Regions from separate parts of the Homo sapiens genome. Here all the other regions are linked to region 5. The links are contacts of gene promoters, found by promoter capture Hi-C in human tissues and cell types (Jung and others, 2019). All regions are on one chromosome and are shown on one strand. The core of a region is centred on a gene start or on the middle of the fragment in contact, and the rest is flanking DNA. Distances in the headings are between cores, read along the strand shown.

Evidence for each region. The method cuts DNA at HindIII sites, captures the fragments that hold promoters and counts their contacts. A contact is called where the count stands out against the background at its distance.
Region 1: a fragment that was not itself captured here is called in contact with the fragment with the promoter of CYTH1 in region 5 in 2 of the 25 tissues and cell types used here (dorsolateral prefrontal cortex and hippocampus).
Region 2: the fragment with the promoter of TK1 here is called in contact with the fragment with the promoter of CYTH1 in region 5 in 4 of the 25 tissues and cell types used here (adrenal gland, hippocampus, liver and 1 more).
Region 3: a contact is called between a fragment that was not itself captured here and the fragment with the promoter of CYTH1 in region 5, in 1 of the 25 tissues and cell types used here (spleen).
Region 4: a contact is called between the fragment with the promoter of SYNGR2 here and the fragment with the promoter of CYTH1 in region 5, in 1 of the 25 tissues and cell types used here (lymphoblastoid cells).

What each region holds. Positions count from the first base shown.
Region 1 is chr17:78,036,936-78,039,635 of GRCh38, reverse strand. The region is part of intron 4 of TNRC6C (trinucleotide repeat containing adaptor 6C); the gene reads right to left. Among named protein-coding and RNA genes, the nearest start is that of TNRC6C, 80 kb to the right of the region's middle. The HindIII fragment of the contact is 4,828 bases long and covers 1-2,700 here.
Region 2 is chr17:78,185,607-78,188,306 of GRCh38, reverse strand. TK1 (thymidine kinase 1) reads left to right here and starts at 1,255. Exons shown (of 7, transcript NM_003258.5): 1 at 1,255-1,378; 2 at 1,489-1,520. The coding sequence starts at 1,313. AFMID (arylformamidase) reads right to left here and starts at 945. Exons shown (of 11, transcript NM_001010982.5): 1 at 874-945. The coding sequence starts at 936. RefSeq lists a silencer at 963-1,102. The HindIII fragment of the contact is 12,138 bases long and covers 1-2,700 here.
Region 3 is chr17:78,253,895-78,256,594 of GRCh38, reverse strand. It overlaps the pseudogene THA1P. Among named protein-coding and RNA genes, the nearest start is that of LINC01993, 23 kb to the left of the region's middle. RefSeq lists a cis regulatory region at 1-38, enhancers at 1,936-2,205, 1,756-2,473, 2,474-2,700 and a silencer at 2,236-2,385. The HindIII fragment of the contact is 6,404 bases long and covers 1-2,700 here.
Region 4 is chr17:78,167,295-78,169,994 of GRCh38, reverse strand. It overlaps SYNGR2 (synaptogyrin 2), which reads right to left and starts at 1,414. Exons shown (of 4, transcript NM_004710.7): 1 at 1,280-1,414. The coding sequence starts at 1,378. RefSeq lists silencers at 952-1,111, 1,142-1,751. The HindIII fragment of the contact is 23,749 bases long and covers 1-2,700 here.
Region 5 is chr17:78,780,753-78,783,594 of GRCh38, reverse strand. It overlaps CYTH1 (cytohesin 1), which reads left to right and starts at 1,322. Exons shown (of 14, transcript NM_004762.6): 1 at 1,322-1,393. The coding sequence starts at 1,372. RefSeq lists silencers at 1,063-1,222, 1,263-1,542, 1,803-2,202. The HindIII fragment of the contact is 23,878 bases long and covers 1-2,842 here.

The DNA.
Region 1 (2,700 bases), core at 51-2,550, 740 kb after region 5:
ATTAACCACTGGCAGGAGGGTCAGCTGGACGCTGGAAAGCTCCATTTAGAATTGTCAGCCCATTACAAAATTGGTTTCACTTGACTGAATTTCACTTCAACATCAGCATTATCGAATATTAAAAGCATCTAGGACTTATTTTTGCATGCAAGTATTAGAAGTCTTGGTTACCTTCTAAAATGGGATACTTGTTGACATCAATAACGCTACAAAACCAATGAAGCTTCTGCCCAATGCCCAGGCCAACGTGGGTGACGGCAAGAAGGTGACACCAAGAACAGAGGGGATGGCTGACCTGGTAAGAGGTAGGGAGTGGGGGGGGGGGGCAAGATTTGAAATTGCTGTTCTGTGGGGACCTGCAGCCTAGCAAAAGTTCAACTGGTTCTCAAACACAGGCTGCTCTTTATCATCACAGGATAAAGTGAGATTGCTGGTCACTGGAAGACTAATGCTATCTACACCTGTGCCTGTTCTGTAACGAATACAGTCAACTCTGTTTTTGTCCCTACTGCCTCTCGACACGTTCCAACTTGCCTGTTATTAATTCATGCCACTGGGCAGAGGACAAATGCAGAGCATTCAGTCGTCAGTAAAGAGCTGTGCTCTAGGTGTCTGCAGGATGTACTACGTCATATTACCCAACATTTTGATAAATCCTGCCACATGCCTCCTTACATTCCGACCAACAGCACACCAGCGTCGCCTTTTCCCACACTCTCGCTGGTCGCCTGCGGTGATTACAGGGTCTTGAGAAGATTAAATGAGTTAATATGTGTAAAGCAATTGGATCTTGCAAATGATAAGCACTCAATCCATAGTACTGTGTTATTACAATAGAGGAATATTAACAAGATTTAAAGTTTTGACAATTTGGTAAGTGAAAAGTGATCTATCAATGCTGTTTCCATTTATCTTTTCCCTGATTACAAGGAAATACTTTTTTTTTTTTTTTTTTTTGACACGGAGTCTCGCTCTGTCGCCCAGGCTGGAGTGCAGTGGCACCATCTCAGCTCACTGCAAGCTCCGCCTCCCGGGTTCACGGCATTCTCCTGCCTCAGCCTCCCGAGTAGCTGGGACTACAGGCGCCCGCCACCACGCCCGGCTAATTTTTTGTATTTTTTTTTTTAGTAGAGATGGGGTTTCACCGTGTTAGCCAGGATGGTCTCAATCTCCTGAACTCGTGATCCACCTGCCTCGGCCTCCCAAAGTGCTGGGATTACATGCGTGAGCCACCGCACCCAGCCACAAGGGAATACTTTCAACATACTTAGGACCCATTTGTGGTAGTTCTATGATCTTCCCGTTCACATTCTTTGCCCATTCTTCTATGGGACTGTTTTTCTTTTGATTTGTCGGAACACTTGGTATTTTTGAGATATTTATCTTTTGCTATTTACACTGTAAACATGTCCTCTCAGATTTTATTCATATTCATGTACAAAACTTTTAAATTTTTATACACTCAAACTTGTCAGTCTTTCTTTTCATGGCTTATGATTAAAATTTTATCCCAAGATTTAGAAAATACTCTCTTACGTCATCTTTCTGTAGTTCTTATATTTGTCTTGCATATGGCTTTCTAGCACTCGATATTGATCTGAACCACTATTTTCTCAGTGATCTGCAACTCTCCGTGTATACATCTGTTTTTCCCCCTGCTCTCTTTATATCATAGTTCCTGGATCTGTGTTTACTCCTGCCCTAGAAACACGCTGTTAAAATTACTAGAGGATCACAGCTCAAAGTGATAGCTCATTATGCTTTTTCAGTCTCTTGGCTCTTCTATTCACGTACATTCGCTCTTCTAGATGAAGTTTGGAATTAGTCTATCAAGTTCCAAAAGCAACTTGGAGGAAGAGCTTTAAATCTGAATTTAATTTGGCTCTATTACCAAAAGAAGCTTTTATGCTGGTTTATTACTATTACTTAGTAATACCAACAGCCAACTTCTGTAGCCTTACATCTTCCCACTGCCCCCCGCCACAATGAGCCTGCAGCGCTTACTGAGAGGCTTTACAACTGCGGGTCTGCGCTTTTCATGCATGCAGGTCACTCCATCTGCGACGCCCTTTCACCTTCTTTGCCCAGCACAGCTAACTTGAAACTCAGCTCATATCACCTCCACCAGAAAGGCTTCCTTGCAGTCCCCTATCCGTAGTCTGGGTTAGTTGTCCTTCCCATGTGGCACTCTATGCTTATCTCTGTTACAATACCTTGAAGTGGCTGACTTACTTATTGGTTATTCCAAAACACTTCACTCATGAATTGTCCATCCCCAGTGCAGGGTATGTGATGTTTGGTAGGCATTCAACAAATGTTCTGCTCAATGAACAAATGAAGACACACATGACAAAACCACCGTTCTGAAAGGCTAGCATCTTCTTCCCTTCTCAGAGCTGTGCAAGCCGAGTGTGGCACTGCTGCCTGAACATTCTCATATAGGAAGAAAAGGAAAAAGAGTGAAAAAGTGTGAAGCCAGTACACTAGTTTGTCTAAGAAATGGCAAAATGTGTGGTTGCAATTTTCTATAGAAGCAAGCTTGCAGATTAATGTAAATCAAAAGGTGAATTATGACAAAATGTTTTAAGAGTCAGATTAATCTACTATTTACATCTCGTTAGGAAGCATATTCTATATAAAGAAAAAGAATAATGAAATAAATAACTGTCAGACTAAGTCTCTTTCCATTCTTTCTTTCTT
Region 2 (2,700 bases), core at 6-2,505, 600 kb after region 5:
CTGTCCAATCTGTACCTGGAAAGGTTATTACCTGTAGGATCCTTACAGCCACACCTGGCACACTCTGTGATCACTACCACCATCTTTGTTGCTATTATTTATGATCATGATTATACAATGGGTTTCTTTTCTTTCTTTCTTTTTTTTTTTGAGCCACCGCACCCGGCCTGTATGTTTCTAACCTTCACAACCCCAATGTAAATACCAGCTGTTCTGAATCCTTCAGCCTGTGCCACATAAGCACAGACCCAAAAACATTGTGTAACCTCAGATCAAGGTCCAGAACTTTGTCCCCTAACCTCCTGCGGGTCTATGGATTTTTTTTTTTTTTTTTTTTTTTTTTTTTGAGACTAAGTCTTGGTCTATCGCCCAGCCTTCCAGGCTGGAGTACAAATGGCATGATCTCGGCTCACTGCAACCTCCACCTCCTGGGTTCAAGCGATTCTCCTGTCTCAGCCTCCCCAGTAGCTGGGATTACAGAGGTACATCACCACGCCCGGCTAATTTTTGTATTTTTAGTAGAAACGGGGTTTCACCATGTTGGCCAGGCTGGTCTCGAACTCCTGACCTCGTGATCCGCCAAAAGTGCTAGGATTACAGGTGTGAGCCGCCACGCCTGGCAGGGTCTACGGATATTATTAGCATAGTCAGGACTTCAATTTTCTTTATCCTGAAAACCAGGTTAACAAAAATCCTTAGGAGAAGGTAAAATACACCATGGTGCTCAAGCACTGGGGACCTGGCACGCACTAGGCGCTCTGCATGCCCACAGGAGTGCTCTAGACGGCTTCTAAGCTTCCTTCTTGGAATTCCAATCTAATAAATGAGCTAACTCCGCCCCAGCCCCTTAGTCCCTCCCTGCAATCCACCTACCTCTGCAGACATCTTCTTCCAAGGAACCTTGCTTGGGAAACCCACACCAGACACATCCATCATGGCGTCTACAGCCGCATGGGCGTGCGTCCCTCTGTTTATATGGCCAGAGCCCCGCCTCGCTCCGCCCCTTTAAACTTGGTGGGCGGACCGAGGCGGGGCTCAGACCAGGCCCCACCCCGATCAGCCACGTCCATCGCCCTGATTTCCAGGCCCTCCCAGTCCCTGGGCGCACGTCCCGGATTCCTCCCACGAGGGGGCGGGCTGCGGCCAAATCTCCCGCCAGGTCAGCGGCCGGGCGCTGATTGGCCCCATGGCGGCGGGGCCGGCTCGTGATTGGCCAGCACGCCGTGGTTTAAAGCGGTCGGCGCGGGAACCAGGGGCTTACTGCGGGACGGCCTTGGAGAGTACTCGGGTTCGTGAACTTCCCGGAGGCGCAATGAGCTGCATTAACCTGCCCACTGTGCTGCCTGGCTCCCCCAGCAAGACCCGGGGGCAGATCCAGGTGCGGGGGCCAGCCCTGCGCGTGGCTGGGGATGAGGTGGTCGTGGTGATAGCCTGTGTCCAGGCATCCGCGCAGGGCGGGCCCTCAAATGACCTCACCTTCTCTCCTAGGTGATTCTCGGGCCGATGTTCTCAGGAAAAAGGTAATGGCTTCGCGGGGCTGGGGTGGAGCTCCTTCCTCTTCTCCGGGGACCCCTTGTCCCGTCCCTCCCCTCCCCTTCCCTCCCCTCCCCTCCCCTCCCCTTCCCTTCCCTCCCCTTCCCTTCCCCTAGAAGGACCAGCACAGCCTCCTACAGCTCCCGCCTGGGGTGCTCCTCCCTTGAATTCAGTCCAGGAGGAAGTCTCTGCCCTCTTCTGCCCAGGCCAAGCCCCTCGTCCTGTGTGGACGCCACTCCCTCCTGGAGCTGGTGACAGCTGCTTACAGCTTAGCTGTCTTCCCCACCAAGTCCTCTGAGAAGGTGGCAACCAGTTGTGTCCCCTGTAGGCCAGGCCTTTTTGTACACCCCTATTCAATGTGGCTGTTTCCTTCTAAGGCCAAGGAAACGTAGTCGCTTTCTAAACCAAGGAGTCTGAAGCCGTGGAGCCTCTGCTCTCCTGAGGTGATAGAACCATTCCCTGACCCGGGTGGGGCTAGTGAGTTTCTTGAGTAAACTACCCACGCACCATTCTTTTTGTTTTGTTTTTGTTCTTCTAGAGGTAGGATCTTGCTATGTTGCCCAGGCTGGTCTCAAACTCCTGGGCTCAAGCAATTCTCTCACCTCAGCCTCCCAAGTAGCTGGGACTACAGGCGTGCACCCCCCCGCCTCCACCCAGCTAATTTTATTTTATTTTTATAGAGCTGGGGTCTTGCTATGTTGCCCAAGCTGGTCTTGAACTCCTGGTCTCAAGCAATCCTCCTACTTCAGCATCCCAAAGTGCTGGGATTACAGATGTTAGCCACCATGCCCTGCCCCAACATTCTTTTATGGCCCTGGGGATCACTTCAGCTCAAACCCCTTGCTCAGGAAGATGTGGCTCAGAGTTGGACTTCTTGGACCCAGAAGCAAGTGCTTTTGACGCTGCACACAAAGACTTTCTGAAATTAATTTAGAAAAGCTGTATGCCAGGTGTGGTGGCCCACGCCTTTAATCCCAGCGCTTTGGAAGGCTGAGGTGCGTTGATCACTTGAGGTTAGGAGTTTGAGACCACCCTGGTCAACGTGGTAAAACCCCATCTCTACTGAAAAAAAAAACCAAAAATTATCTGGGCATGGTGGCAGCCTCCTGTAATCCCAGCTACTCGGGAGGTTGAGGCAGGAGAATCTCTTGAACCCGGAAGGCAGGG
Region 3 (2,700 bases), core at 40-2,539, 530 kb after region 5:
TGGCCCTCAGGGCCACAAACGCAGCAGCTCCTCTCTACCCAGAGGCTTCACCCCTGCTATCCCTCTGTCCAAAGTCGGCTCCATCTTCGAAGCTCAGCCTAATCACTGCTTCCTCCAAAAAGCCTGCCCTGCTGCCTGGACTGGGACTGTTAGAGCTGCTTCCTCGCTGCCATCCTCTCACGGCCAGCATCTTGTCCCCCACCCCTGGGACCTGAGCTCTGGAGGGCAGGCCACCTCTGCTCGCCCTAAGTCCCCAGGCCTGACCTGGAGCTGGCCTGTGGTAAAGGCCTGGCCATGACTGATCTAGGATGGGTGTCCTCCTCACCAAGGGCCACCCTCACCAGACGCTTGGCCCAGCAGCTGTGGCCCCTCCTGGATCTTTCTCCTATGGGGGACAGAAAGAGGAAGAGGAGCCGCTGAGTGGCAATGGGTGCCTGTGCTCCCTGTGTGGGGGAAGGGCACCCCACAGTCTAGACTGTGTCAGAGTTCACCCCAAAGCCCCCGGGCCCTCAGAGTTCCAAGCTGGGATCAGTAACGACAATGATAATAACAGCCACAGCTGGGCAGGTCGTGATGGCTCACGCCTGTAATCCCAGCACTTTGTGGGGCTGAGGGAGAATCACTTGGGCTCAGGAGCTTGAGACCAGCCTGAGCAACACAGCAAGACCTTGTCTCTACGAAAAACACAGAAAGATTAGCCAGGCATAGTAGCACTTGCCTGTAGTCCCAACTACTTGGGAGGCTGAGGTGGGAGGTTCACCCAAGCCCAGGAAGTCAAGAATGCACTGAGCTGTAATCACACCACTGCACTCCAGCTTGGGGGATAGAGTGAGACCCTGTCTTAAAAAATTAAAAAACAGCCACAGTGGGGTGACCACCCTGAGCTTACAGCAAGCCAGGCATTGGGGTCAGCACCAAACACATATCCAGTCACTGAATGCTCACAACAGCCCAATCTGCAGTTGAGGAAACCGAGGCACAAAGAAGCTACATGGCTTGTCCAAGGCCACACAGCTGGCTTGAACTTCAGCACCACCCTGCCCCCATGGAGGCAGTCCACCCAGGGGCAGGGGCCTATGGAGGAGGGGCTCCCCACGCATTCTTTTAGCGGTCTCCCCTTAGACTGGAACCCGGCTGGAGACATAGCCCTGTCCCCCAGCCTGGCACCTGGACACCTGGACACTGCCTGGCGCACCGAACTTGCTCAACAAATCAATACTGAAGATGGTAAACGAGGGAAGCTGTGTTTTAGGGGCAGCATGAAACAGTGATTTAGGGCTGCCCTCTGGAGACAGCGGTACCCCGCCCGGACCAATTCCTACCCAAGTGGCCTCCAGCTGTCCGTTAGCTCCGCGTCTCCTGTTCCCCATCTGCAAGACAGGGATAGCAATAGTGCTTGTCTCCTAGAGTCGTTGGGAGGTTTAACTGAGCTAACATTTGCAAAGGGCCTGGGGCAGAGCCTGGCACATGGCAAGTGCCACATGAGCGTCTGTGTTATAAAAGCTCGCCCAGGGCTGGGTGCAGTGGCTCACGCCTGTAATCCCAGCAATTTGGGAGGTCAAGTCGGGTGGATCACCTGAGGTCAAGAGTTCGAGACCAGCCAGGCCAACATGGTGAAAACTCCTCTCTACTAAAAATACAAAAAAAAAAAAAAATTAGCTGGGCGTGGTGGCGCGCGCCTGTAATCCCAGCTACTCGGGAGGCTGAGACAGGAGAATTGCTTGTACCTGTGAGGCGGAGGTTGCAGTGAGTCAAGATCGCGTCACTGCACTCCAGCCTGGGCGACAAAGCGAGACTCTGTCACACACACACACACACACACACACACACACACACACACACACACTCGCTCGGCCTCGGTTTCTCCTTCAATGAGCAGAACCTTCTGCTTCAGCATCACGGGCTCGCTGGTTCTCCGCCGCGACGCAGCCCGTACTACAACTCCCAGCGTGCCACGGGGCCCGTTCGCAGACGCTCGCGCACGCCCGCCGCGAGGGAGCGCGAACTACAACTCCCAGCGTGCCACGGGGCTCGCTCCCTGGACCCCCGGCCCAGGGCGGCTGCTTCCCAGCTCTAGGAATTCTGGCCGCACCGACCACGTCGCTCTCGCCGCCTTCGCTGGGGAGTAGAGGAGTCAGCAGCTCCCGCCGGGGTGGGGAGTCGGGCGCTGCCCGCGCCATGCTCCGCAGACTGGCCCGAGCGGCGGCCCCGGTACATGGGGCGCTCCGGGCGGGGTGTGGGAGCGCGGGGGTCGCAGCCTACGTGGTGGGCCTGCGCAGCGACAAGGTGACCAGGCCCGGGCCGGCCATGAGGTGCGTCATGGCCGAGGCGGTCGTGGGGGACGACGACTACGGCGAAGACCGGCGTGCAGGCCGGGGGTCGTGGAGGCGGCAGCGGAGCGCTGTCCGTGATGGTCTGGGACGCAGGGGAAGTGGCTCCCTTGGCGCTTAAAACCCATTTATGCCTAGTGTTCCATTATTGGAACGCTAAGCATCTGGGAGGTATTTATGTCCTACTGCTCAAGGTCATCGCCAAGGTCTGATGGCAAAAATTCAAAAAATTGCAACCTCCGACATAAATGGGTGTAATGAACACCTGCCACAGGATAGGCTTGCCGTCTGCGTGCGTGCTGCTGTTACCTGAAAGTTAGAAATGCAGATTCCGGCCGGGCGCAGTGGCTCAAGCCTGTAATCCTAGCAT
Region 4 (2,700 bases), core at 165-2,664, 610 kb after region 5:
TGTGTCTTCACCTCCTGGAACCCCTGGAACCCTCCCTGGTTCAGCCTGGCCAGCTGTCTCCACACAAGGACTTGCAGCCTCTGTGGCATCCTGGTCCCTCCCAGTCTGTCTCCCACCCCACAGAGGGCCCTGCATGCACAGGGCACTACAAGGGGACTAACTCAGGCCTGTGGATACAGCTCTGAACTCAGACACCTGGAGGACCCAGGGTGGATGTAGGGGAGCTCCAGCCCCTTGGGAAGAGCCCCATACCACCTCCCTAAACTTGAAGGCCACCACCCACGCCTGCTCCACCTCAGCAGGTGTGGGACAGGTCTGTGAGCATCAGGATCCCTCTGGGATGGCCCCAGGACTCTCCCCTGCCAGTCCTGCCCTGTTGTCCCAGGGAGCTCTCCATAGGGCTCTGGAGCTGGCAGTCACAGGCCCCGCCCCCAGATGGAGATGAAGCCGGATCTCCGGGATGATGGGAGCAGGGTGCCCATCCAGGACTCCTGGCACTGCCATCCCGACCCACTGGGCACCTGATTCTTGGACACAGCCCAGGACAGAGGCGATCAGATCCCACAGCCTGGCTGGGAGCTGGTGTGGGCGCCCTGGAGGACCTCAGAAGCTCCAGGCCCAGGCATGGTCTGGGCACAGCAGGCCCACCTCTGCCTGCCCCCTCATGCCACCCCCTCCAGCTTTCAGGGCTGGCTGTCCAAGAACAGGCCCCCTCCCCGCCACACACACACACACACAAAACCTGGTTTTGGAGGTATTGCCCACCTTACAGGGAGGGGGTACATCTTGGGGTCCCTCAACTTCGGGTGGGAAGGCGGACCCGTGGCCTGCCCCGAGTGGGAAGGACACCCTGTTTCCGGGCGTTGGGTCGCCCCCCGCCCCCTCCCTTACCCCACGTGGCTTCGGAAAACCCCGTCCCGGTGAACTCCCCAATCTGGGAGTCGCGGCGTGCGGGCCACCTGTCCGGGAGCCGCCCCCAAACTCCTCCCACTGCCAGCGAGGCAGGGGCCCGCTCCCTGCGGAGATCCGGACACCCCGCGTCGGGGCGCGAGGCTGGGGGTGGGGTGGGTGGCGGGACCCGGGACCGGGAGGGGACAGCGGGACAGACTGTGGAGGGCGGGAAGGCGGGGCCCGGGACGCTGGACGCCGGCCCCGCTCGCCGCCAGGCCCCGGACGCGGCCGCCGCCACCTGTCGCGCTCGTGGGCTAGGGGCCCCGCCGGGCCTGGCGACGGAGAGGGGGTCCCCAGGGTGCCCTCGGCCCGCCCTCCCCGGGCTCACCAAGCACACGGCGCGCGCCACCACCTGCGGCTGCGTCAGGAAGCGCCGCAGGTCGAAGGAGCCGCCCGCCTTGGCCGCGCCGTAGGCCCCGCTCTCCATGTCGCCGTCGCCGCCGCTGCCGCCGCCGCGGAACGCAGAGGAACCTGCCCGGCGCCCCGCCCGACTCCACCCGCCGGGGGCGTGGCCAGGCGCCGCTAGGGACCGAGGGCAAAGTGCGGCCCTCGCGAGCGGCGGGCGAGCCGCGGGACTGCGCTTCTAGAGGCGGGGAGGGGCTGTGGCCGCGGAGCACCCGGGTCCACCCCACCTCGGGGTTGAGGGGCTAGTCTCCGGGCCACGCCGGCCGCAGCACGGACCAGAAAGGGTCAGAGAGTCCCCCGGGAAGACGGACGAACTGAGGACCGCTCACCCTCTTTGCCCCTGCCCTCCCACCGCCTCCTCTAGGAAGCCCACCACCTACCAAGAACCCACCCAGGCTCATAAGCAACCCCTCCCCCATCCCACTGAAAAACCCAGGCCACACCCTGGAGCCCCTCCCTGCCTGGCCTGCCACTCTTTCCTCCTCTCTGGGGCTAAGCCTGGGGTAGGGTCAAAGACCCCCTCCCCATTCCTCCTGGTCTGGGCAGAGCCCCAAGGCTGTGAAGGGCAGTGTGGCGTCACACTTAAGATGGTGTGCAAGGCCGGGAGCGGTGGCTCACACCTGTAATCCCAGCACTTTGGGAGGCCGAGGCGGTTGGATCACCTGAGGTCAGGAGTTCGAGACCAGCCTGACCAACATGGAGAAACCCCGTCTCTACTAAAAATACAAAAATTAGCCTGGTGTGGTGGTGCATGCCTGTAATCCCAGCTACTCGGGAGGCTGAGGCAGGAGAATCGCTTGAACCTGGGAGGTGGAGGTTGCGGTGAGCCGAGATTGTGCCATTGCACTCCAGCCTGGGCAACAAGAGCAAAACTCTGTGTCAAAAAAAAAAAAAAAAAAAAAAAAAAAGATGGTGTGCAAGGCCGGGCGCAGTGGCTCACACCTGTAATCCCAGCACTTTGGGAGGCCGAGGCGGTTGGATCACCTGAGGTCAGGAGTTTGAGACCAGCCTGGCCAACATGGTGAAACCCCGTCTCTACTAAAAATACAACAACAACAAAAAAATTAGCTGGGCGTTGTGGTAAGCGCCTGTAATCCCAGCTACTTGGGAGGCTGAGGCAGGATAATTGCTTGAAACCGGTAGGCAGAGGTGGCCGTGTGCTGAGATCGAGCCACTACACCCCAGCCTGGGCAACAGAGCAAGAGTCCATCTCAAAACAAACAAAACAAACAAACAAACAAACAAACAAACAAAACCAAAAACGAAAGTTAGCGAGGCGTGGTGGCAGCTACTAGCAGTCCCAGCTATTCCAGAGGCTGAGGTGGGAGAATTGTCTGAGCCCAG
Region 5 (2,842 bases), core at 73-2,572:
AGGAGGCTGAGGTGGGAGAACTGCTTGAGCCTGGGAAGCAGAGGTTGCAGGGAGTCATGATGGTGCCACCGTACTCTAGCCTGAGCAACACAGCGAGTGAGACTCTGTCTCAAAATGAATAAATAAATAAAAGAAAAAGAAAAATAGTAAAACTCAGGACAGGTGGGCCCACAAGGAAAGAGTTCTGTGGCTTTTACTCCCGTTTTTTGGTTGGTCCAAAAAATTCCCAGCAGTCCAGGGATCTCTGTGGAGTTCTCAGTGAGTGTTCTGTGTAGGGTGCAGGAGCCACAAGTGACTGCAGGGGGAAAGGGGGGTTCTGGTGCTGGCATTCTGCAGCAGTGGGATTGTCCTCTGTCATAAAGAAAGAGAAGGCCGAGCGCGGTGGCTCATACCTGTAATCCCAGCACTTTGGGAGGCCGAGGCAGGCGGATTATTTGAGGTCAGGAGTTCGAGACCAGCCTGGCCAACATGGCGAAACCCCGTCTCTACTAAAAATACAATTAGTCGGGCCTGGTGGCACATGCCTGTAATCACAGCTACTCAGGAGGCTGAGGCAGGACAATCGCTTGAACCCGGGAGGCGGAGGTTTCAGTGAGCCGAGATCGGGCCACTGCACTCCAGCCTGGGCAACAAGAGCGAAACTCGTCTCCAATAAATAAATAAAATCCAAAACGCTGGGACTTGAAGTGCCCTCCTTTCAATCTTGACCCAGGTAAAACTCAGGACAAATAAAAAGAAGTAGAAGCAGTAAACTTAGGACATACAGCATGTAAAGGTTCTGAACGCAGGAGTAAATGACTTCAAATAGCTTTTGTGGCCTTTCGCCAAGGACCGGGCCCTCCCTGGCAAGCTGGGGCCGGGTCTGACCTTCCAGGTTGGCGTCAGCAAGGACCACCCTGCCCTTCAGTGGCCGGACACGACCTTGGGCTTTCGTGCAGTAGCCTGGCTGCAGGCCAGGTCGAGTCCGCCACCCCGGGGACTTGCACCGCCCTTCAGAAACCGAAACCTGCTCGGCCCCAGGAGGCGGACCGGGAGAAGGGGGGGGGGTGTGTGTGTCTCGGGACGGGGGCGTGGTCTAGAGGCGGGGGCAGGGGAGGAGCCTCGGGTGGACGCGCGTGCGCAGGCCGGAGCCTCGGGAGGAGGCCGGGTACCCGGGGTGCGGCGCGCGCGGGAGGAAGGCGGGGCCTCGGGCGAGGGGCGGGGCCTCGGGCCGGGGGCAGGGGGCGGGCGCAGGCGCAGGCGCGGGCGGGCGGGGCGCGGGGCGCGGGGCGCCGGGGGCGGGGCTCCGAGCCGGGCTGAGGCGAGCGGGGGCGCGGGTGGCGCGGCGGGACGCGAGCGGCGAGCCGGAGCGCGGAGCCCGGCTCCCGCACCATGGAGGAGGACGACAGCTACGGTCAGTGCGCCCCGGCGGCGGACGCTTCCCCCTCGCTGTCCCCCAGTCCCCTCCGGGCCCGGCCGTCCGGCAGCGCTTGCGGCGGCTGGCGTTTCCCGGGGACACTGGTGCGGGACGCGGAGCCCGGGGCGACCGGCGGGCGAGCGGTGCGCGGGGCCCTCGCGGGGCGGGGGTCGCAGGGGGTTTTGAGGGATGAGGGTCGCCGGGGCCGGGGTCGCTGGCGGCGCTGAGGGATGTGGGTGGCTGGGGCGGGGGTCACAGGCCGGGCTCGCGGTCTCGCGGGGCCAGGGGTCGCCGCGAGCTCTGAGGAATGAGGGTCGTTGGGGTCGCGGGGCAGGATCTCAGGGGCTCTGAGGGATGAGAGTCGTTGGGGTCGCTGGGGTCCCCGGGGCAGGGGTCGCAGTCCGGGTCCCGGGGGGCCGAGGGGTGGAGGTCGCTGGCCCTGCCGCCCCTCTGCGGGGCTCGGGGCGGACGCGCGGATGGCCGGGCCCGCGTTCCCCGCAGTTTCCGGCCGCTCTCGGCGTCAGCGAGTTGTGCCCGGTCCACGTCTTTGTTCAGAAATGAGAACGGGGAGCGGCGCCGCCGGCGAGGCGCGGGCTCCGGGACGGCCCTGCCCGCGGGAGTCTGGGCCCGGTAGCCGCCGGTCCGGTGCGTCGCCGCCTGCCGAGACGCGGGTGTGGAGCCCGAGGGGCACCGCGGTGGGGACGCCGCTCCTCCCCTGACTGGGGACTTGGCAAGCGGAGCCGCTGTCCCGCTCCCTTCGCTCCCGCGCGTTGAGGCTGCTGGCCCAGGCCAGGGGTGCCTCCCTCCAAGAGTTTGAAATTGCAAGGGTTGCAAAAGGTTGTTTGACATGCTGTAGTTAATTTATTAAGTTTGTTCATGAGGAATTAAAAGGAAGAATGGCAAATAGAACAAGTGGTGAACTTTTGTGGTTTGGTAGCAAAGTACAAATAAAGCAGAACTCTGTGGCCAAATGGAACCCAATTCTAGTTTAATAACTAATGGGACATTTTTCTTTTTTTTTTTTTTTTAAGAGACGAGATCTCGCTCTGTCACCCAGGCTGGAGCACAGTGGCGTGATCGTAGCTCACGTCAGCCTCTTGAGTGGCTGGAACCATACGCACGCCACCATGCCCGGCTAATTTTTTATTTTATTTTATTTTATTATTTTATTTTATTTTATTTTATTTTTGAAACGGAGTCTCACTCTGTCGCCCAGGCTGTAGTGCAGTGGCGCCATCTCGGCTCACTGCAACCTCGGCCTCCTGGGTGAGCTGAGCGATTCTCCTGCCTCAGGCTCCTGAGTAGCTGGGACTACAGGCGCGTGCCACCACGCCTGTCTAATTGTTGTATTTTTAGTAGAGACAGGGTTTTGCCATGTTGGCCAGGCTGGTCTTGAACTTCTGACCTCAGGTGATCCACCCGCCTCGGCCTCCCAAAGTGCTGGGA